2 separate regions of the Homo sapiens genome follow, and region 1 is linked to region 2. The links are contacts of gene promoters, found by promoter capture Hi-C in blood cells and fetal thymus (Javierre and others, 2016). All regions are on one chromosome and are shown on one strand. The core of a region is centred on a gene start or on the middle of the fragment in contact, and the rest is flanking DNA. Distances in the headings are between cores, read along the strand shown. Region 1 overlaps ERBB3 (erb-b2 receptor tyrosine kinase 3). Region 2 holds the start of ZC3H10 (zinc finger CCCH-type containing 10).

Region 1 (4,131 bases), core at 1,137-3,636, 34 kb before region 2:
GACTTTACCCTCAGGGTAGCAGGGAACTGGGCTACCTCTAACACTGTAGCCTTCCAAGCACAGACACAAAGTCTGCACAAACACTTATGGGCACGTGGGATAGATGGGGCCACCTGAAATACTTCCTGCAAGGAAACCCAACTATAGATTCCTGAGCCAGCAGGACCAATGTGTACGTGTTCGTGTGTACATTGTGTGTGTATGTGTGTGCCCACACTACTACTTCCCTGTGCAGAAAGCTTGGCTCCTCCCTTATCTGGGGAGAAGTGTTGGCACTATAACTTGGGAAAGGGGGTATCCTGCCAGGAAGGGGATTGGGGTGGGGCTGTTCCAGAAATGACTAACCTTCCTAGTCTCTTTCATTTCAACCCAAGGACCCTGGAGTTCCCAGCTCCTCTGGAACTAGCTCTCTTTGCTGGGACTAGCCAACCTTCATGGGGAGTGATAAGGAGCCCTCCAAGGTCAAGAAGTCAGACTAGGGGTGTATGTTATAGGAGGGATTGGGGCCTCACCAGTCTCCCTCCCTCCATTCCCACTGTTGCCTCCCACTGAGCTACCACCGCCTCAGGGAAGGGTGGCTGGAACAGGTGGTATCTACCCCCTACTCCCCACCCCACACATGGTCTTTCCCTGAACCAGAGGAAAGAGACTGGGGTAGGGCTTCAGAGTCCAGGACTTCCCATAGCCCGTTGTCCACCACATTTGCAAAGAAGAGTGAACTCCCAAGGCTGACATGCCATGTACCTCTAGTCTAGGCTCTCCCCTAGTGTGGGTGAGGATTGCCATGGTGAAAGGCTTTTTCATGAACCTCTTCTAACAATGAAATTGTGTGGAGGCTCAATATGGGGCATCTGCTACTATCTCTCTCCAGGTTCCTCTGTATTTGCTGAAAAATACTCTAGGGCTGGAAAGTGATGCTGAGGTTGCTAGAGTGTGTTGGGATGGGGGAGAGAGTGAGAAGGAAACCCTGAGTTTAGGAAGGCGGGGAGGCAACTAGCTCCTTATCTTTCAGCTTTAAAGACAAAGCTCCCATTGACCCCCCCTCACCCCAGCACTGCCAGAGCTCCCCCCTCTACTGAGGTCACTTGTCTGAGCCCAAGGCTTGAGGGTGGAGGGGAGTGCTGCTGAGGACGGGGTGTCTAGGGACAGGGTGGGGCAGCCCCCCTCCTGGATAGAATCGCCTCATTGTGGGCTGGACTGTGGCCCCAGGCACTGCCCCCACCCTCTGCCCCCATCCCACCCTCAGTAGACACAATAGGGGCTGTGTACTAGTCCCAAAGAGATATTTATTCCAGGACCTAGAGAGAGGCAGGATGAGGGTAGAGAAGTGAGTGCCCTAGTTGGAGGGGGAGAGGAGGGTAATCAAAGTTGCGGCCTTTTCCTAACTTCTCTTTTCTAGGGAGAGAAACAAATTCCCTGTCTTCCTTCTCAGTTAACCCCTTAGTACCCAAAAGAAGCACAGAGGGGTCCCAGGTTGAAAAAGGAAATCTTTTCACCTTCCCATTCATGGAATGGTAAGGGGATTCTGAGAAGAGAGAAAGCTCTCAGGCCACTACAGCTTCTGCCTATCGCTTGTGGGAGGGTTGGAGGCAAATGCCATCTGATCCTGTCTAATGTAACTGGAAGAGGGCAACCAAGGGGGTGATCTTTGGGGATGGCAGATGGGCTGAGAATTTGTGTCCAGCCCTCAGCCACTCTTCCCTCTGCTTTGAACAGTGTGTCCTGGGACTCTGAATGGCCTGAGTGTGACCGGCGATGCTGAGAACCAATACCAGACACTGTACAAGCTCTACGAGAGGTGTGAGGTGGTGATGGGGAACCTTGAGATTGTGCTCACGGGACACAATGCCGACCTCTCCTTCCTGCAGGTTAGTGAGCCCACCCTCCTTCCTCAACCTGCTCCTCTTTATTCTCCCCTAGAACCCTCCTTCCTTCTTCAGGGCTACCTTCTGCTGGAGTTCACCCTTCCTAAGACTCAGGAGTTCCTAAGATTCAAAACCGTGTATTTATGGGGACAGTGGCTGTCATCTGGGACCTATGGTCTCACTGTTGTAGCCAGGGATATATAGGGGGCAGGGTCAGGGGCAGGTGGTGTTCTGTGGATAGTGCAAGGTCAGCAGGGACTAGTGCAGAGAGAAACCTGAGGACCAAGAGGTTACCTGGGGAGATGAGGAAGGGGCCCTACTGGTATGAGGCACTTTGAGGAGAAAGCTGCCTGTCTTCACTCCCAGAAGTGACACAGCAGTGTGACACAGTCTACTCCCTACTCCCAAATAGGAATTAGCAAGAGTTAAGGCCAGGTGCAGTGGCTCATGCCTGTAATCCCAGCACTTTGGGAGGCCAAGGAAGGCAGATCACTTGAGGTCAGGAGTTCAAGACCAGCCTGGGCAATGTGGTGAAACGCTGTCTCTACAAAAATACAAAAATTAGCTGGGTATGGTGGCATGCACCTGTAGTCCCAGCTACTTGGAGGGCTGAGGTGGGAGGATTGCTTGAGCCCAGGAGTTTGACGCTGCAGTGAGCGAGATTGTGCCACTCGTAACAGAGCGAGACCCTGTCTCACCAAAAAAAAAAAAAAAGGCCAAGCTCGGATCACCTGAGGTCAGGAGTTCGAGACCAGCCTGACCAACATGGAAAAACCACATCTCTACTAAAAATACAAAATTAGCCAGGTGTAGTGGCACATGCCTGTAATCCCAGCTACTTGGGAGGCTGCGGCAGGAGAATTGCTTGAACCCGGGAGGTGGAGGTTGTGGTGAGCCAAGATCGCACTATTGTACTCCAGCCTGGGCAACAAGAGCGTAACTCCGTCTCAAATTTTAAAAAAAAGAAAAAAAGAAAGGAAAGAAAGAAGGAAGAATTAAAACAGTTAAAGAGTCTTTAATGCCTGAAGGAGGAGAGGAGATTGAGATTATTTTGCCCTGTTGTCTCTCTCATTTACATAATCTGCTCTGTCACAGTGGATTCGAGAAGTGACAGGCTATGTCCTCGTGGCCATGAATGAATTCTCTACTCTACCATTGCCCAACCTCCGCGTGGTGCGAGGGACCCAGGTCTACGATGGGAAGTTTGCCATCTTCGTCATGTTGAACTATAACACCAACTCCAGCCACGCTCTGCGCCAGCTCCGCTTGACTCAGCTCACCGGTCAGTTCCCGATGGTTCCTTCTGGCCTCACCCCTCAGCCAGCCCAAGACTGGTACCTCCTTGATGATGACCCAAGACTGCTCACTCTAAGTGCCTCTTCCAAGGTGCCTGTCACCTTGGCCGCTGTCTAAAGGTCCATTGCTCCCTAAGCAATAGAGGGCCCCCAGTAGGGGGAGCTAGGGGCATCTGCTCCAGGGAAAGGAACCCTGTGTCCTTGTGGGGCTGGAGTCAGAGCTGGATCTGTTAACCGTTTTTCTAATTTCAAAGTACAGTGTACCGGAGGCCAGGCCTGATGGCTTACACCTGTAATCCCAGCATTTTGGGAGGCCAAGGAGGGCAGATCACTTGAGATCAGGAGTTTGAGACCAGCCTGGCCAACATGGCGAAACCCTGTCTCTACTAAAAATACAAAAAAATAAAATAAAATAAAAAATTAGCTGGCTATAGTGGTGCGCACCTGTAATCCCAGCTGTTCATGAGGCTGAGGCAGGAGACTCGCTTGAACCTGGGAGGTGGAGGTTGCAGTGAGCTGAGATTGCACCACTGCACTCTAGCGTAAGTGACAGTGAGACTCCGTCTCAAAAAAAAAAAAAAAAAAAAAAAAAAGCCTGGGCGCGGTGGCTCACGCCTGTAATCCCAGCACTTTGGGAGGCCAAGGCAGGTGGATCACAAGGTCAGGAGATCGAGACCATCCTGGCTAACACGGTGAAACCCCGTCTCTACTAAAAATACAAAAAATTAGCCAGGTGTGGTGGCGGGCGCCTGTAGTCCGAGCTACTCGGGAGGCTGAGGCAGGAGAATGGCGTGAACCCGGGAGGCGGAGCTTGCAGTGAGCCAAGATTGCACCACTGCACTCCAGCCTGGGCGACAGAGCGAGACTCCAAAAAAAAAAAAAAAAAAAAAAACCAAAGTACAGTATACCTGGATGTCCCTCCTTCCCTAGGAATTCTACCTTTACTCTCCTAAACCAAACCCCTATGAGCT
Region 2 (4,995 bases), core at 1,073-3,572:
GACCAGCCTGGGCAACACAGCGAAACCTCGTCTCTACTAAAAATACAAAAATTAGCCAAGTGGCGCGCGCCTGTTGTCCCAGCTGCTCGGGAAGCTGAGGCGGGAGAATCGCTTGTATTCAGGAGGCGGAAATTGCGGTGAGCCGAGATCGCGTCACTGCACTCCAGCCTGGGTGACACAGTGAGATCCTGTCTCAAAAAAGAAAAAAAGAAAGAAAGAAAGAAAAGAAAGAAAGAAAGAAAGAAAGAAAGAAAGAAAGAAAGAAAGAAAGAAAGAAAGAAAGAAAAGAAGGCAAACCAGTAAAACAAGAATTTCTGTACAGTCCGCGCCTATCCATAGCAAAATGGAGGACTTCTCCAGGGAACTGCAACTCCCAAGAAGCAATGCGAGGGAAGGTGGCGGTCACTATTTTTTCCCCGTCTGCACCTCTAGGTCCAATATTGGAAATAGGTGCTGACGTTTAAATAACACAGCGTCCTCATACTAAATCTGGGGGGGAACTGGTAACTCGAAAACCAAATACTCGGTCTTCCGAAAGAACTAACTCAACCTACCCTTCTACAAGAGGGTCCGAAAACCACTGTTACGCCCATTGGGTAGCCCCGCCCTTGGGGGGGGCAAAGGGCGTGAAAGCGGAAGTGACGACACCCGGCGCTCCATTAAATAGCCGTAGACGGAACTTCGCCTTTCTCTCGGCCTTAGCGCCATTTTTTTGGGTGAGTGTTTTTTGGTTCCTGCGTTGGGATTCCGTGTACAATCCATAGACATCTGACCTCGGCACTTAGCATCATCACAGCAAACTAACTGTAGCCTTTCTCTCTTTCCCTGTAGAAACCTCTGCGCCATGAGAGCCAAGGTGAGCGGTTCCTGGTAGTAAGCTTGGGAGGTAGGAGTTGGCGAGTAGTAGCGAGGAGACGAAGGCAAGTCCGCCATACCTCCTGAACTACTGGGTTTCAAGGGTGCCCAAGAGCTGGTGGGAGAGAGAAGGTAGTTTGTGAGAGAGCTAGCGGTTAAGTGCTATGGGTAGAGAGGGTGGGCTTAGAAAAGGGTGGAATTCTGATCTTATGTTGGGAGGGTGTCCAAGTTACTGATGTAGTTGTTACGACCAATCTTTCATACTTCTTGGTTAAGAATCTGTCCGGTTCTAAAGAGTGCATTTCATATCCTTGCTAAGCCTACTAATAAGCTTCATCCCTTTTTTTTTTTTTTTTTTTTAATTATCTGCTGCTTGTGATCGGTTGCTAGTGGAGGAAGAAGCGAATGCGCAGGTACGTTGAGACTTTGCCAGCCCAGGAGGAGGGAAGTTCCTTGGACAAAACTTAGGAGAAACATTTGGTTTGGAAATCTTAAAAGATCTTTAGGAGAAAAACGTTTGAGTGTTTTCTCCCTGGAGCCAGGATTTAACAGAACAGAGAACGATAGAACCGTAGTGCTTGTTCATTTTACCACCTCATTCTTTATGTGGACGTTTGATTTAATGTGGGAGGGAAAGGCAACTCTGGTTTGAGGTGTATTCCATTCCTGTGTCTGCTTTTCAGGCTGAAGCGCAAAAGAAGAAAGATGAGGCAGAGGTCCAAGTAAACCGCTAGCTTGTTGCACCGTGGAGGCCACAGGAGCAGAAACATGGAATGCCAGACGCTGGGGATGCTGGTACAAGTTGTGGGACTGCATGCTACTGTCTAGAGCTTGTCTCAATGGATCTAGAACTTCATCGCCCTCTGATCGCCGATCACCTCTGAGACCCACCTTGCTCATAAACAAAATGCCCATGTTGGTCCTCTGCCCTGGACCTGTGACATTCTGGACTATTTCTGTGTTTATTTGTGGCCGAGTGTAACAACCATATAATAAATCACCTCTTCCGCTGTTTTAGCTGAAGAATTAAATCATCTTGTCTATTATGTTTTTTATGGTTCCATCGGGTGGGGGTTTTCTGTCATTAGAGTTTGCCCTGTCACTACCTGTGCTATGGAGGGTATCAAAGCTATAAAGGCAACAGCCCGGGTTACGTGGTGTGGTTTGCATCTCGCTGGAGTTGGATGGGATATGGTACGTCTCTGGAGGCAGGTTTTAGGTTTCGCGGGTTATTAGGGGCCAATGCTGGTACCGCCCCTTTCCAGGAGGGCTGCCTTGGCGACTACCGCTTAGACCATGTCGTGCCTTTGGGTTGGGTTGCCATAGTGACACGCAAAGCGTGCTGGGAACGCCCTGCGGCATGTCGCACGCGTACTTCATACACCATAGAGTATGGTTCCGGGTCTGCTGGCTAGAGCGTCACTTCTTCCGCAGGAAGCGGAAGAGCGATCGGGTAGGCGGCTCTTTGTCGAAGCTAGAGGACCGGCAGGCGGCAGCAGCAACTACGGCGGCGGCGGCAGGTGAGGGAGGCGGGAGACTTAGGTGGAGGCCGCGCCCGGAGGGGAGGAGTCGGGGCCGGCCCAGCGGCTGGGCTCGGCCAGGCCACAGAAGGCCCCCCAGAACCGAGCTGGCTCGTCCTCACACCCCAGGGCAGTGCCCCTTTTCTGAGTGACCCCGCATCGCGAGCAAACGCCAGCTTCGTGACGTCACAACCCTGCCCATCCCCTCAGCTTGATGACACCTGGAGCTCCAGCTCCCCGCTTCACTTCGCGCGCCCTTAGTGTCCCATTCACGTAGCCCACGGCTGAGCGCCGGCGGCACTGCACGGAACCTGCCAAGCTAGAAGACTTGCTGCGGGAAAACTCCTAGGACTTCTTTCGCAAACTCTAGGGTGTTGGGAAGCGTCACAATCACTGCCTTCAAGTCTAATCGGCCATCCCAATGCACTGTCAGACGCTGCCTTTTTGAGGTTCCTCACTAGCCATTACTAACTCCAGCCCTTGGCGGTGCTCTGACCCTCACATCCTCTTTCATCTTGAGGCAGGGCGCCCCGCACTCTTTGTTCACTCAGGGCTGGTTTTCCAACCCCTCCTCCCAGTCCCTCCGAATTAGTTTTACTCTTCTTACTGGCAACTTCTCCCTTGGACAGGTGAAGTTCAGTTTGAACCCTGAGGAAATCCTCACGTTCTCGAAGCTTTGCCGTTTTGTCAGATTTCTTGTGACAACCACCCCATAGTCCTCCACTCTTACTCCTTCTTCCACCCAAGTCTCTGTTTTTTTCCTGCTCAGAACCCAGCAGTGATGTGGAGGTGGAGACCCACAGGAGCCCCGGACTTCACCTGAGCTACCTCAGGTATCAATTCTGGGAGAGTGGGGTGGGGAGGAGCATCATAACTAATTATCTGCTGCTGGTGCGACTTGCAACGTGAGCCAGGCTTGGATAGATGGCATTTGTACTTCACCTGGTCATTCCCCTTTACTAAAAGTTTGTATCTTCTTTTACCACTTCTTTCCTTGATTGCTTCTATTATTCTGGGACTACCTCTCTTTAGAGGAGGAGGACCCTCTTACAGATTCTCTTGTAACTCTGGCCTCTGGTTTGGTTAGTTCATTTTAGGGAGATCTGAAGGCAAAGTCACAGTAGTGGGGTGGGGGTAGGTCAAGGCCAAAGGAATTAGGAAAGATTCCCTTATTCTCAAAGGGAACAATATGAAGTTTTCCTATTTCAGCAGCAGGGGGAGCCTGAACACCGCATAGGAAAGGCTTGGGAGGTCAGACACGTGGTAGCAGGGACTCCAGGTCTTACTGGGGGTGGAGAGAGGGGAGGGCTAGAACCAGGGCAGTGGACTGACATTCCAAAGCTCTCTTGGGAAATAGGAGACTTAAAAAGCTTTTATGGAGTCTATAAATAAAGAGGATCTTTCTGGGTTGAGGAATGGTGTGGTTGGATGTCAGTGGGATCTTCACATAGGGGAGTAGGAAGGGGGTGGGGAATGGGGAAAGGTCACTTGTTCCTGTGAAATTAACTCCTTCCCACTTGACCTTATCACAAATGGTTTGTCCTAGGAAATCTAGAAGTGGAGACTCTAACTTAGAACTCCTATCCTGAAATAGAAGGGGCTTACCTCTCTGCCGTTGACAGTGATGATGGCTGGGAGGGAATACTAAAATATGACAGGTTTTGAGACTCCCCTCAAGCTGGTGACACCAGTCTCTTCACCCAGGATTTCTTGGCTTCTAGAGATTTGATGTGTACAGAGCCCTTACCTGAGGAAAAGGAAAGGGGGTTAAGGAAGTTTTGTTACCAGTGTCCCATCTTCTACAGCCCTAGTAGCTCAGTAGCCCATCTTGGGCACTATTCCCAGTTTCCTTCCAGACTATTCAGATACTGACTGCAGTTTTAATTTCACTTCCACAACTTTAATAAGGTCAGCTCAAAAGGAAAGATGAATTCCAACACTATTTTTTCCCTGCTCCGTCCTGGGCCTATCCCTCCTCCGTTAGCCAGGCAAGTGTGAATCATTCTGACCCAGACCAGGTGCACAAAACCCTGGGAGGGGCTTTTGATGAGTCAGACATTTCAGCCAGAATTCTTATCCCTTAGATTCTCCATCTCTAAAGCCATTGCCCCTCTGGGCCACCTGCTTTATAGTCAGGAAGAGTGGGATCTCCCTGGAGGACTCCTGTTTGATACAGTTCTCCTCTTTTGTAGTGGTCACCAAGAGTGGCAAGATAAAGAAAACCCTGAGTTGGGCGGGACCAGGATGCCTGACCGGGACAGCTATGCCAACGGTACCGGGAGCAGCGGTGGAGGCCCTGGAGGTGGTGGCAGCGAGGAGGCCAGTGGGGCAGGGGTAGGCAGTGGCGGGGCCAGCTCAGATGCCATCTGTAGAGACTTCTTGAGGAATGTGTGCAAGCGAGGCAAGCGTTGCCGATATCGCCACCCAGACATGAGCGAGGTGTCCAACTTGGGGGTGAGCAAAAACGAGTTCATCTTCTGCCATGACTTCCAGAACAAGGAGTGTAGCCGCCCAAATTGCCGTTTCATCCATGGCTCCAAGGAGGATGAGGATGGCTATAAGAAGACAGGAGAGCTTCCCCCACGGCTGAGGCAGAAAGTAGCAGCTGGCCTTGGCCTTT

What was found. Contacts are between HindIII fragments. The CHiCAGO score rates a contact against its expected background, and 5 or more counts as called.
Region 1: a contact is called between a fragment that was not itself captured here and the fragment with the promoter of ZC3H10 in region 2, in 1 of 17 cell types (M2 macrophages). The highest score is 5.5, in M2 macrophages.

The regions. Positions count from the first base shown.
Region 1 is chr12:56,082,035-56,086,165 of GRCh38, forward strand. ERBB3 (erb-b2 receptor tyrosine kinase 3) reads left to right here. Exons shown (of 28, transcript NM_001982.4): 2 at 1,717-1,868; 3 at 2,961-3,147. Among named protein-coding and RNA genes, the nearest start is that of ERBB3, 3.9 kb to the left of the region's middle. The HindIII fragment of the contact is 4,298 bases long and covers 238-4,131 here.
Region 2 is chr12:56,115,944-56,120,938 of GRCh38, forward strand. ZC3H10 (zinc finger CCCH-type containing 10) reads left to right here and starts at 2,323. Exons shown (of 3, transcript NM_032786.3): 1 at 2,323-2,375; 2 at 3,145-3,208; 3 at 4,568-4,995. The coding sequence starts at 4,620. It overlaps RPL41 (ribosomal protein L41), which reads left to right and starts at 690. Exons shown (of 3, transcript NM_001035267.2): 1 at 690-856; 2 at 1,246-1,268; 3 at 1,539-2,024. The coding sequence starts at 845. The coding sequence ends at 1,581. RefSeq lists an enhancer at 282-331 and a silencer at 1,998-2,047. The HindIII fragment of the contact is 1,863 bases long and covers 1,185-3,047 here.